Regions from separate parts of the Homo sapiens genome. Here all the other regions are linked to region 1. Evidence: promoter capture Hi-C in human tissues and cell types (Jung and others, 2019). All regions are on one chromosome and are shown on one strand. The core of a region is centred on a gene start or on the middle of the fragment in contact, and the rest is flanking DNA. Distances in the headings are between cores, read along the strand shown.

Region 1 (4,479 bases), core at 1,826-4,325:
CTGATGATGTTGGAGAAGACAACCTCCTTGAGTGCTTAATACATGCCTGGCACTTTCTAAGCATTAATCTTTGTGATAACTCTAAGTTCTATTATTACCCCCACTTTGTAGGTGAGGAAACTGAGGCACAGAGCCATGGAGTAACTTGCCAAGAGCACAGAGCCCTAACCGGCAGGGGCTAGGCCAATCCCAGGCAGTGAAACTCCAGGGCCTCCACCCTTACGCTGTGTCTGATCTCACTTTGTGTCTTTATGGGGCCTGGCAGATAACAGGTGCTCAGCAAAGATTATGCTTCTAAGAATCATCACCCTTCCTACAGATAGGTTATGACTGTAAAGCTCTGGTCAATGGATCTCTCTCTTTGGACTTGATTACTTTTTTTTTAGGCTTTCCTGTTAGTTTTGTCTACCCCATCACGCTGTCCAGCCTGCAGCTGGAGCTCTGGGAGAGTAGATGCTCTGAGGTCTCACCCTCAACTTGGCCTCTGACAGGTTCCCTGCCCAGCCAAACTGCCATCACCAGTAGACAAGCTTCCTGGTAATCCTCACATTGAATTCATGTGATGCATGGATGAGGTATCAACATCAGTCCTGTCCTGGAGCCTGAGGAGTGAACCCAATGATCCCTGAGACCCTTCTAGTCTTCAAAGTCCACACTGACCAGAGTGGTTTTAAAATATTCATCATCTTCTTTAACTAGTCTCAGAAAATAATACTCCAAAATATGAACATTCCCACTTTCAGGCCCATGCACACTCTACACACTTTTCCAGGGCCAGTTCAAATGATATCTCCTCCTCCAGGAAGCCTTCCTTGCTTATCTGGCTGAAATTGAACTTCTCTTGTTTGAACACCCAGCCCTTGGTTTCCCCAAGCCATTCACTCCCTGGTGCCTCTGTTTAGCTTTCCCTGGCCTTGGCTTATTCTCAGTTACAGGCAGGACCCAGATTGCACACACGCTAGGGCCCCACCCCCAGCTCCTTGCAAGCAGATGTCATTGTTCCAACATTGATTGATATGTTTAATGAATCCCATATTTCAAGAATGCAACTGACCAGACATAACTCAGGAGTGGTTTTCGCCATATAAGCGGAGCTCTGAGTCACAAATCCTGTGTCTTCAGAGGTCCTTTAATGTCATTCTCTGCCCCCTCCTCCTTGAGTAGCAACAACATTAACAACCATTGATTAAAGCCTACTGTGCACCCAGCCCTGTGTTAAGGGCCTTTCTTACAGTGCCTTAGTGCATCCTGACAACTTTACAGGACACGGAATTTGTGTCTCCATTCTTCACATAAGGAAACCTGTTGGAAAGGTCGCATAACCAGTCCAAGATTGAACAGCTAGCAGGGTGCAGAGCCAGAAGTGGAAGCCAGGTCTGATTCCAAAGCCATTGCTCTTAGCTTCCTGAGGTCCAGGCTGTCCCTAGCCCCTAAGGCAGCCACTCCTTCCCAAGGTTCTGATGCAGCCACCTATCTGGAGTCACACAGGAGTGCGTCTCTTTTCTTGTGGCTGGATCTCCTAGTGATATGAGGACAGTTCCTGGAGAAGATTCTCCCCTCCTGTCTAAACACACCTAAATGGGCTTGGCCTCCTCCCGCAGCTGGCTTCTAGTTGCATATTGGCCTGGTGGCAGTTCTTCCCCTGCTCTCCCTTCCAAGCCCCCACAACTCAATGTATCAATGATTGTTTTAAACTGTGACTCTAGGATTCCACTAGCCAGAGGCCCTTTCAACCATGGGCCCTCTGAGAAGCTCCTCTGTAGGCCGACAGGAGGGTGGACTTGCTTCGCGTGGTACCCGGGGACTGGGGCAAGCGGCTGCGGGATAGGGGTCTCCACCTGAGCTCCCTGAGGGCACCTCTCCCACTACCACCGCATCTGACCCCCACTACTGGCCCCAGCTCGGGCCTGGAGCCCACGCAGAAGGGGAGGCAAGGTTGAGCGCCCACACCCGGCCAGTAACCGAGGCGCTGGCCCTTGCCGGAGCACTTGGCCGTCTTCCGCAGAACAGCATCACTGGCAGCCGCCCCGCGTGGAGGGTGGAGCCGGGGAGCCCGGTGTGGGACGGCCGGGGCCAGGGTACCCTAGGGCGGAGAGCTCAGGGCTGGCTTCCCGCTCCCAGCCGCGCGCCCCTCGGGCCGGAGGTTCCTGCCGCGCCCCGACACCTGGAGTGCATTAGGCGGCGGCGCGCGTCTAGGCGACGGCGGCTTTCCCCAGATTATTGAATAATTGCATAATTCCGAGCGCGGGTTGGGAGGCAATGCCGGGTCCCTACCCCGGGTGTCAGGTAACGTTTCGGGGGTCCTGCGCTGCGCGACTGTGTCCCGCCGCTGCTGGCCGGGCAGACGAGAGCTAGCCCCCGCCTACCGGCCATCGCCCCGGGGCTTTGCTCTGTCTTTGGCCGGAGGCACTCTGCGCAGCCCTCACCCCCACCCTTCAGCCCTCCGGGGCCGCCGCGCCCGGCTCTCCAAACTTTGAGATGCTTCCCCGGAGCCAGGCAGGAGGGCAGCCAGGGCACACTCTCTTGGCGCTGATTCCCTTCCCCAGCCGGGGCCGTGCGCCCTCGGCGCTCCCGGGACACCCGAGTGCCCCTGGCAGCCGTGCGGGAACCCCGGCATGGGCCTTGGAGGCACCTAAGGCGCCCAGGAGGGCCACCAGATCTGGGAGCTTTTCAACTCAAGCCTCTTCAACTCTTCCCAAACACACCAAAGAGTCCCGGCTTTCAATAGCCTTCGCACCTCCCTCTTTAGCGAAACTTGACTGAACCGCTAGACTGGGGCCAGTCCCTGGGGGACCCACGTCCCCAAGAGCAGCTGAGGTCTGACCCTGGGAGGAGGGTCGCGTCCCGATCCTGGCCGCTGGATCCAAGCCCCGAGGGCCCAGGGAGGGACTCCGAGAGGCAAGGGGAGGCAGAGGGTGGGCACCTACCTGGCCACAGGCTGAGCGCCCAGGCCACCACCAGGCCCCTGGGCAGGTCCATGGCCCGCGGCACGGCGGCTGGGTCCGGTGTGCAGCGGCGGCGGGGGGCGGCAAGCCAGAGCGGCAGCCTCCTCGGCGCGGCGCCTGCAGCCTGCACTGCGCGGGGCGCCGGGCTCCCTGACAGCTGCGGCTCATTCAGAGGAAGTGGGAGGGCTCGAGCGGAGGGGAGGGGCGCCGGACACCACTCCGGCTCGGGCTCTGGGCCAGTCTCGGCCGCTCTGCCACCTGGGCAGGCGGCGCGCTGCCTCGACGCGCCTGTGCAGCGCTCCTTCTCCGCCAACCCCACGTCAGCCTCTGGAGAAAACTCCAGAGAACCGCTCCTGGGAACCCCCTCACCAGTGTAGCACCGCACCGCCTCAGTCAGATTCTGTTCAGGAAAAGTGGTTTTTATTCCCATTTCCCAGTGAAAAGAGATTCACAAAACTCAGAGGGTACCCAAGCTGGCTCAGGAACACCTGCTGGAACGCAGGTCTCCCTTGGCCAAGTGAGTGGATGTCCCTCAAAGGTCCATTCTAAGACATCCCCGTGTCTCCCTGCACCCTGCGGCTTGAATTGTAGAGGCTAGTGTTTCTTCTGACCCTGGAATACATGCAGATTCGCCTCCACTGCCACTCCCTGAGCCTCCACACCTGAGGCATTCCAAAGCACCCAGGGACACCGTGCACCCCCTCTTAACCTAACGTGAAGCTCTTCTTTGTAACCCTGCCACCTTCTTTCCCTCTTCTAATCACTGGTAGTTAAATTCAATGCACATTTATCTCAAGAGCTTTAAATCCAGGCCCCGGACCTCCACCGCGCTTGTGGAGGCTTTTCCAGCAATGGAGGAAGCCGAGGCAGAGGGTAGGAAGGCCAAGATGCAGGGAAAGCCACAGCAGAGCGCCCTTCCCCCACTTTCTCAGGAAAGGCTTCCTTCACCCCCTCTTCCCGTCCCCACCAGGTTGAGTCCCAGACACATGCTGATATTCCCCAGCCCGCTCTCCCTCATTTCTCTTCATTGTGCTTAGTAGAGAAGCAAGGCATCAATTGGTGTGATCATTTAACTTTTCTCTCCTGTGCAGACTGAAAACACCATCAGGGTAGAAATCTCTGGTTCACAATGGAGTACTCAGCCCCTAACACCCAGGAACAAAGTAGGTGGGCGGGTGGATGGATGGGTGAGTACAGGTGGTGTGTGGGTGCACAAAGGATAGAGTTTTCTATCTGGGAGGTATTGGAAGGGCTTCCCAGAGGAGGTGATGTTCAGTCAGGGCCCCTGAAGATGAGCTGGAGTTTGAGAAGACCCAGGTTCACATAAGTGAAGTGGGCTTGTGCTCGTCTCCCAACCTCACTATCTTTCGGTTGGCTATCTGGGTTTTACTTCATCTTCACCTCACCCATTCAGCCACAGACTCGGGGAAGGTGATTCCGTCCCTGGTGTGTGTGTGTGTGTGTGTGTGTGTGTAAGGAGGCATGCGGTTCAGGCTGAAATGAATCAGTATGTTGCCCTTCCCAGCCCATCGTT
Region 2 (4,285 bases), core at 223-2,722, 36 kb after region 1:
ACATAACCTGGGTAACACACGGGTGTGTGTGTGTGTGTGTGTGTGTGTGTGTGTGTGTGTGTGTGTATTTATTTATATTTGAAGCTTCAGCTTTCATTCTTGAAAAAGGGGGATGATGATTTCTACCTTAGAGGATGATAGTGAAAACTAAATGTAATACTGCATTTAATGTACTTAGCACCATGTGTGGCATGCAATAAGAGCTCAATTGCTAGTGGCTATTAGCATTGCTAAAACTAATATTTGGCTCTTCTTCTAGGAGCAGTCTTTGGTTTTTTTCTCGGGTCCAACTTAATCAGCAATCAAGACTACCGTGTCCCTCAAAAGCCCAAAACATTTGTGAAAACCCTAAAGCTTAATGAAGATTTTGAGGTGAGATGAAAGCCAGGTAGTAATGTCATATACAACATAACAGTAGAGGTCCCCAGACATCTTTCTTATCCTGTTTGCTCTCCCCAAGTTTCTCCTACCTTGATACCTCAGTGATACACTTCCCCCACCCTTCCCCCATACAGCTCTTTACTACTCTGTCTGGCAGTTCAGCTCCAGCCCAAACTTGCATTCACCACTAAGGAAAAATGCCACAATTTTCCAGATCTCCCTTCCAGCAGTTATTTAACAATGGTAATCACATTTTGTTATGGAAGATTTCTTTTTGGGCATTTATTCCATTCTTAAGCCCAACTGCTGGTCATTGTTCCCCTTTCTAGCCCTGTGAATGCTATCTCAAAGAAGAAATGATGGTAAATATAATATTCTCCAACCTTCAAGTAAATCCTTTAACCCAATATATTGCAAGGTGAGTCTGTGATAAAATTCTTTCTTATGCGGAGCTGAAATCTGTTTCCCTGTAACTCATACCCCATGCGTAAATGCCCATGAAGTCCATATTCTCCTTCACAAAACAAATCCTTAAAAACTCACATCCATTTCCTTTAGAAAACTTTCTTCAGTTTATTCTGGGATTCATTCTTGGCTGTGTGTCTGCCTGTCCTTTCAGCTTTCATAATGTCCTTTTTTCAGCTGTGGCTCCTGAGAAAACCTGATGCTTGGTTTATCAACCAACTCCCCTTAGCCTCCTTCATGACAGGTCGTATCTTTGCTGAATTTTCATTTGCTCTTATAAACTCTAAGATATAGTATTTCAAATTGAGATGGGAGATTGCCAGTCGCTTCTAAATTGGATAGAGAGATTATTAAAATGCAGATTCTGGGCTTCATCCCAGATCTAGGAAAGCCAAGCCTCTGGGTACAGAGCACAGGAGTAAACAAACTCTCCAGGAATTATGATGCCCAGTCAAAACTGCAAACCAGAACTCTAAGGAAACCACAGATGTACCTGGTAAAATGGGGACTCCTTGCTCCTTGCACATTCTATTGCTCTTTCTCCCCAAGTGGATTTGGCTAAAGAAGGATGAAATTATTGATGGAGTTGGTCGTGAGAGGTGGTTTTTTTTGTTTGTTTGTTTTGTTTTTTTGGCTTTGGTGAGAAGTTGTTTAACAAGTAACAGAATGTTCCTTTCCTGGGGCTTTAGTAACGTTATTTCTGGAGCTACTGGGATTTCCAAAAATGCTCCAGAAGCTGATAAATTGAGCTAATTCCAAACCCGCTGGCCAGTTGCTCAACCATACTATGCATTTTTTGGTGTTCAATAATATTTACTGAGCACCTACTTTATGCCAGGAACTTGGGATACTTCAGTGAGCAAAACAGACATACATCCTGCCCTCATGGAGCTTCCTTGCTAGTAGAAAAGGAATAATCTCACAAGGGCAAAGAGGAAGAAAAGAGACAGCAGCAGACGAGTGATGTTCATTATTTTGGTGCAATAAGATGCAGTGAGGCCGGGCGCAGTGGCTCACACCTGTAACCCCAGCACTTTGGGAGGCTGAGGCTGGTGGATCACCTGACGTCAGGAGCTCGAGACCAGCCTGGCAAACATGGGGGAAACCCCATCTCTAGTAGAAATCGAAAAAAAAATTAGCCAGGCATGGCTATAATCCCAGCTACGCGGGAGGCTGAGGCAGGAGAATCGCTTGAAACCGGGAGGCAGAGGTTGCAGTGAGCCAAGATTGAGCCATGGTACTCCAGCCTGGGCGACAAGAGCAAGATTCCATCTAAAAAAAAAGAAAGATGCCGCCAGGCATGGTGGCTCACACCTGTAATCCCAGCACTTTGGGAGGCCAAGGCAGACAGATCACGAGGTTAGGAGTTCGAAACCACCCTGACCAACATGGTGAAACCCCGTCTCTAATAAAAATACAAAAATTAGCCGGGGGTGGTGGCGTGCGCCTGTAATCCCAGCTACTCAGGAGGCTGAGGCAGGAGAATTGCTTGAACCCGGGAGGCAGAGGTTGCAGTGAGCTGAGATTGTGCCACTGCACTCCAGCCTGGGAGACAGAGTGAGACACCATCTCAAAAAAATGAAACAAAACAAAAAAAACATACAATGAGATGCAGGGGTAAGGAATAACAGAGAGGGATGACCCATGAGGAGGTCATAAAGGAGAAATTCTAGGGTGGAGGAGGGATGGGGGGAGTGGAAGACTCTAAAGGTGATTAGGGACTATGCTGAGGAGAAGCTGCATCTTATGTGAGACTAGAGGAGGCCACCCCTGCAGTAGACTGGTGGCCTACACAGGCTGGTAGTAGCTGCAGCTTGGGTATGGGAATAAAGAGAGAGAAGTGAATGCCAAGGTGAGGACGGGGCACCTGTCCTCATTTAGGAAAGTGAGCTAAAAAGCTAGATTTCCAGGGAGACAGGATTTCTGTGTGGGTCCAGGTAACCTAGACAGCGCTGGGGAACCTCCAGGCAGATAATTTATAGGTCTGGGTATTCCTTATGGCATTCCAGGTCTACTGAACATGGTGCGTGGGTCCTTCTCTGGGCAACTGTGGTATAACAGAGTGGAGAACCTGGCTCCAGAGCTCACAGGAGGTACCAAGTGAAGCCTGGGTTCTGAACACCTTACGGGGAAAGAAGTGTCACACACATACTCACACAGGAGGACACACACACTCAGGTATATTCACACCCATAGTCACATACACACTCAAGTGCACAAGGTCACCCTCTTTCCTTGGTTGTGCTGAGATTCCTAAGGGTGGGTTGGAGGGAAGGCAGGGGACAAACACTGCTGGCAGGCTGGTTTGGGACATCTGAAGTATAGAAATGAAAGGAGGAAAGAATATTTGCAGCTTTCTGATATGTGAGCAGAGCTATGACAATCTCATTCCAGTCCAGCTCTCTACTTCTCCTAGTCTGCAATTGAACCTTTCACAGTGAATTAGTAATAATAGAATCAACAAAGGAAAGAGCTCTTCAAGTAGCACTGAATTGGCATTTAGTCCTCCTGAAAAGTGGAAAACACATTTTTGAGGCCAGATTTTTCATAGCCAGGAAGTCGTTTTAACCAAAGCAACAAGTCTAGTGACGTGTCATTTTTGACAATAAAATTTTGTATTTATTCTATTTCTGCAGTGTAATCTTTTCATCTTTGGATAAATATTTATCTTGTACTGGCTCTGTACCAGACCCTGTTCTGGATGCTAAGGATACGGTGGGGGTAAGGATGAGCCCAGCCCTCCTGGAGCTTACCCTTAGTGCAAGGTCAGGCGTGAGAGCAGAGAGGCTTTGCGTGCCCAGTAGGGCTGGGACCTTGTACTGAGCCCCTGTGGACTTTCTAGTTGTGCGGCCTCCCAGGTGATACTCCAGGAGACGCTACTGCGCCTGGCATCTGTCATCATTTGCAGAGAACGAGCCTGTAGCTGTGTGGGACTCAGGGAGGCCTCAGGACAGTGAGTAGTACAGCAGAGATCTGAATCCAGCACTGTCTGCTCGCAACCACCAGGCCATGCTCTTTCTTTCGCCCACCACCTCTCCCCCAGGAAAGAGCCAGCAGATCAGGATCTCCCTGCTACTCACACTGTGAAGACGGAAGCGAGAGAGAGCCACTTTGCGTGTGGCTGGCTTCAGAAGTCAGAACAGGCTGGGGAGGTTCCTAAGGTGAGTGCTAAAGTCCCAGTTCAACTTCCTTCATTATCATATGGCCTCCAAGTCTCCCTGTCCTGGGTTTTTCTGGTCAGCCAGCTCCATTCAACAAATGCGCTGATGTCAGCTGTGTGCTGGGCCCCAGGAATCCGGGAGTAAATGAACCAACATGTCCAGTGTGCATATGGAACAGAACACTGAGGGTTTGATAGAGTAAAAGCAGAAGCCAGAGGAGGCCTAAGGTCGGGGGACACTTAACTCTGACAGGCAAGTGTGCCCAGACTTAAACTAAT
Region 3 (4,290 bases), core at 109-2,608, 39 kb before region 1:
CCCCAGGCACAGTGATTTCTCCTTTCAGAGTCTGGCTGGGTTTCTGCTGTGAAGATGATGCTGTGTTGGCTGCTCTTGGGCTGCAGGGAGATGAAGCTGGTGTCCAACAGGGGAGATGGGCCATGGGCCTCAGTGACTCCAACAAAAAGTGGGAAGTGATATGTGTTATCACAGAAAAGGCTTGGGGAGGGTAAGGTCATTTTAGGCTAGGAAAAGGATTCAGAAAGCCTTCATGGAGAAAGTAGCCTCAAAGATGCATGTAATTAATACCAGGTCATATTTGACTTGCATTGGTTTTAAATTATTTCAAGGGTATTAATGTTGCCTCCCTAACTGGTCTGTGACTTATTTGAGAGTGAAACCACGTTTTACTCATACCAATATTTTGCCGAGTCTAGTAAAATTCATTAACAGATGCCTAATAAACAAATATTGGTCAAAATAAATTCTGTCTTGGAAAAGTCAGTTCAACTTAATTTTTAACCTTTCATACCATGTAAACAATATGGATGTCATGCATCTTATGTCTGGGCTGGTTGAAAGAGGCTCAAATCCTTAATTCAGTCTGTCAAAGTAAGTTCTTTGAGCACCTACTAAACACCAGGAATTATACCGCTGATTTCAGGAAGTAAGATAATGATACAGGCAATTACTATTCAATTTGATAAGTGCTATGAAAAGAGAAACACAGAATTCTATGGGGGCAGCTTATGTAGTGATGGGAAGGGATAGTCAGAGAAAGTTTCTCAGAGGAAGTGATATCTAAGTTGATAAAAAGAATATGAAAGAGGGCTTTCAATTCTAGCCATAAACAACTATGTAAACAGCACAAAATATCTAAAACAACTATTTTCAGGCACTGGACAGCAATCAAGGCAGAGCTCAATACTTGTAAGAAGGGAAATACAGAAGCTGAAACCCTGTTCACCCCAGCTTTTCCTCTGAGGGCATTTTCTTTGCTGAAGCACAGGGAAATGGATGCAGAGAGTAGAAGTCTTGCTGGATGGAGGAAATAGGGATTGGAGTTGGGGCTGCAAAGATGACTAGGATTTGGGAAGGGCAGCATACCAGAAAGGAGAGAACAACAGGAAAAGAGTCTCAAAAGCTCTGTTGAAAGTTTCCCTCAGGTTCTTGGCTGACTCCTAAGCTGTGTATGCATAGTATGATACACTGGAAAATCTATCAGAAAACAGCCAATGGGAGCAGAGATTTTAGAGGTTGCCTCCTATTCTGGGAGGAAGGTGTTGGGGTTCATACCCAGTCAGAAAGGAGAGACCTTAATGAATACTCTGGGATTTCATTTGAGACCCCAGAAAATCTATGCTCTAAGAGTAAAGACCACATCCTAGGAATAAGGGCAAAACTGTAACATCCACAATATTCACAATATTTACAAAATGAGTAAATAATCAGGAAAAAATGGATAACCATGAGATAAAATAGTCACCAGAAGCAGACCAGAGATGATCCAGATATTGGAGTTAACCAGCCAGGACTTCAAAATAATTATAATTAATGTGTTAAAGAAAATAGAACAAAAGATGGACAATTGGGATCAAGACAGATTATTGTGACAGAATTAGAATCTATAAAAAAAGAATCCAGTGGACATTCAGGAGCAAAATAAAATATCTGTAATAAAGAGTATATCGAATGGGTTTAGCTGCACAATGGATACAGCAGAAAGCTGGATTAGTGACCCTGAAGACAGATGAATAGAGGATATCTAAATTGTAGCACAGCAAGAGAAAAATGGAATAAAAAACTGAACAGAAATATGAGAAATATGGCGAGAAGGCCTAACATACACACAATTCAAGTTTAGAAAGAAAAGGAGAGAAGAAATGGGACAAAAGCTATATTTTTAAAAATGAAGGTAGAGAATTTTCCAAATCTAATTAAAAGTATCAATGCAGATTCAAGAAGCTTTGGAAACCCTATGCAGAACAAATACAACAAAACTACATTTAGATACATCATAGTCAAACTGCTGACATTAAAGGCAAATAAGAAAGCAACCACAAGAAAATGACATATTACATTCAAAAGAATGATAAAACTGATGGTTGACATCTCAACAGAAACTGTAAAGCCAATAGACAATGGAATGACATTTTAAAGTGCTAAAAGAAAAACTAGATAAGAAATACTTCAAAAATTAAGGTGAGATTAAGATCTTTTCAGACAAACGAACAAAAACAAACAGAAAACCCAACTCCCAAGGCTGAAAGAACTCTTGTTAGCAGACTTATACCACAAGAAATACTAAGTAGAGTTCTTTGGCTGAAAGAAAATTATCTCAAATGAGAGCACAGAATTATATAAAAGAGACGAAGAACACCAGAAAGGGTAGCTATGTGGATAAGTAGACATAAATATTAACAACTTAAAGCAACAATAACAATAATGTCTTGTGGAATTTATAACATGTGCAAAGGTAAAATATATGACAAAAATAACACAAAGGACAGGACAGGGGACTGGAATCAAACTGTCGTAAAGTTATTGTGTTACTTAGAAAGTGGTAAAATACTAATTGCAAATAGATTGTAAAGCTGTGTTAGAAATGAAAATGGAGATATTACGACTGACACCACAGTGGTATAAGAGACCATTCAAGACTACTATGAACATCTATGCAAACAAACTAGAAAATCTAGAGGAAACACATAAATTCTTGGAAGCATACAACCATCCTAGCTTGAATCAGTAAGAAACAGTAATTTTGAACAGACCAATAACAAGCAGTGAGATTGAATCAGTAATTTAAAATATTGCCAACAAACAACTAAGATTTTAAATTATACAGCAGCTCTCTTGACCACCATGGAATTGAATTAGAAATATAATAGAAAGACAACTAGAAAATCTCCAAATATTTGGAAATTAAAAAACACATTTCTAAATAACCCACGGTCCAAGGAAGAAATCATGATGAGAATTAGAAATTATTTTAACCTGAATGATAATGAAAACATCAAAATTTGTAGGATGCAGCTAAAGCAATGTTAGAGGAAATATATAGCCTTATATGTATATTTTAGAAAAGAAAAAGGGTCAGAAAATCAACAATTTAAGTAAGAAGCTAGAAAAAGATAAATTAAATAAAAAAATGGAAGAAATAATTAAAATGAGAATAGAAACCAATGAATGAGAAATCAGGGATTCAATAGAGAAAATCAGTAAAGCCCATAGTTGATCCTAGAACACATTAATAAAATTAATATGCCCATAGCAAGACTGATAAAAAATAAGAGGGACAACACAAATTACCAAAAAGAGAAATGAAAAAGAGGATATATAGATCTTATAGACATTGAAAAGATAATAGGAGGCTAATATGAATATTTGTGGATAAAATTTGAATGAAATGTACAAATTACTTGAAAAACCCAAGTTACTAAAATTAACACAAGAAGGAGTAGCAAATCTGAATAATCCATTATCTTTAAGAAGTTGAGATCCATTCCAAGATGGCCGAATAGGAACAGCTCCAGTCTGCAGCTCCCAGCATGATCGATGCAGAAGACGGGTGATTTCTGCATATCCAACTGAGCCTCCACTGGTGATATCCAGGCAAACAGGGTCTGGAGTGGACCTCCTGCAAACTCCAACAGACCTGCAGCTGAGGGACCCAACTATTAGAAGGAAAACTAACAAACAGAAAGGAATAGCATCCACATCAACAAAAAGGACATCTACACCAAAACCCCATCTGTAGGTCACCAACATCAAAGACCAAAGGTAGATAAAACCTCAAAGATGGGGAGAAACCAGAGCAGAAAAGCTGAAAACTCTAAAAGTCAGAGCACTTTTGTCCTCCAAAGGATCGCAGATCCTCACCAGCAATGGAACAAAGCTGGATGGAGAATGACTTTGACGAGTTGACAGAAGTAGGCTTCAGAAGGTTGGCAATAACAAACTTCTCCGAGCTAAAGGAGCATGTTCAAACCCATCATAAGGAAGCTAAAAGCCTTGAAAAAAGGTTAGATGAGAGGCTAACTAGAATAAACAGTGTAGAGAAGACTTTAAATGACCTGATGGAGCTGAAAACCATGGCACAAGAACTTAGTGATGCATGTGCAGCTTCAGTAGCTGATTCGATCAAGTGTATCAGTGATTGAAGATTAAATTCATGAAATAAAGTGAGAAGACAAGGTTAGAGAAGAAAGAGTAAAGACAAACAAAGCCTCCAAGAAATATGGGACTATGTGAAAAGACAATGAGATCACTTGGACATAGGGCGGGGAATATCACACACTGGGGCCTGTTGGGGGGTGGGGGGCTGGG

The links. The method cuts DNA at HindIII sites, captures the fragments that hold promoters and counts their contacts. A contact is called where the count stands out against the background at its distance.
Region 2: a fragment that was not itself captured here is called in contact with the fragment with the promoter of ITGA11 in region 1 in 3 of the 25 tissues and cell types used here (mesenchymal stem cells, spleen and thymus).
Region 3: a contact is called between a fragment that was not itself captured here and the fragment with the promoter of ITGA11 in region 1, in 1 of the 25 tissues and cell types used here (mesenchymal stem cells).

Annotation. Positions count from the first base shown.
Region 1 is chr15:68,429,088-68,433,566 of GRCh38, forward strand. ITGA11 (integrin subunit alpha 11) reads right to left here and starts at 3,076. Exons shown (of 30, transcript NM_001004439.2): 1 at 2,928-3,076. The coding sequence starts at 2,979. RefSeq lists an enhancer at 1,477-2,236. The HindIII fragment of the contact is 3,029 bases long and covers 2,529-4,479 here.
Region 2 is chr15:68,466,523-68,470,807 of GRCh38, forward strand. It overlaps LOC124903513 (a long non-coding RNA gene), which reads left to right and starts at 3,949. Exons shown (of 2, transcript XR_007064689.1): 1 at 3,949-4,007. The HindIII fragment of the contact is 5,881 bases long and covers 1-4,285 here.
Region 3 is chr15:68,391,452-68,395,741 of GRCh38, forward strand. All of the region lies in intron 2 of ITGA11 (integrin subunit alpha 11), which reads right to left. Among named protein-coding and RNA genes, the nearest start is that of ITGA11, 39 kb to the right of the region's middle. The HindIII fragment of the contact is 5,663 bases long and covers 1-4,190 here.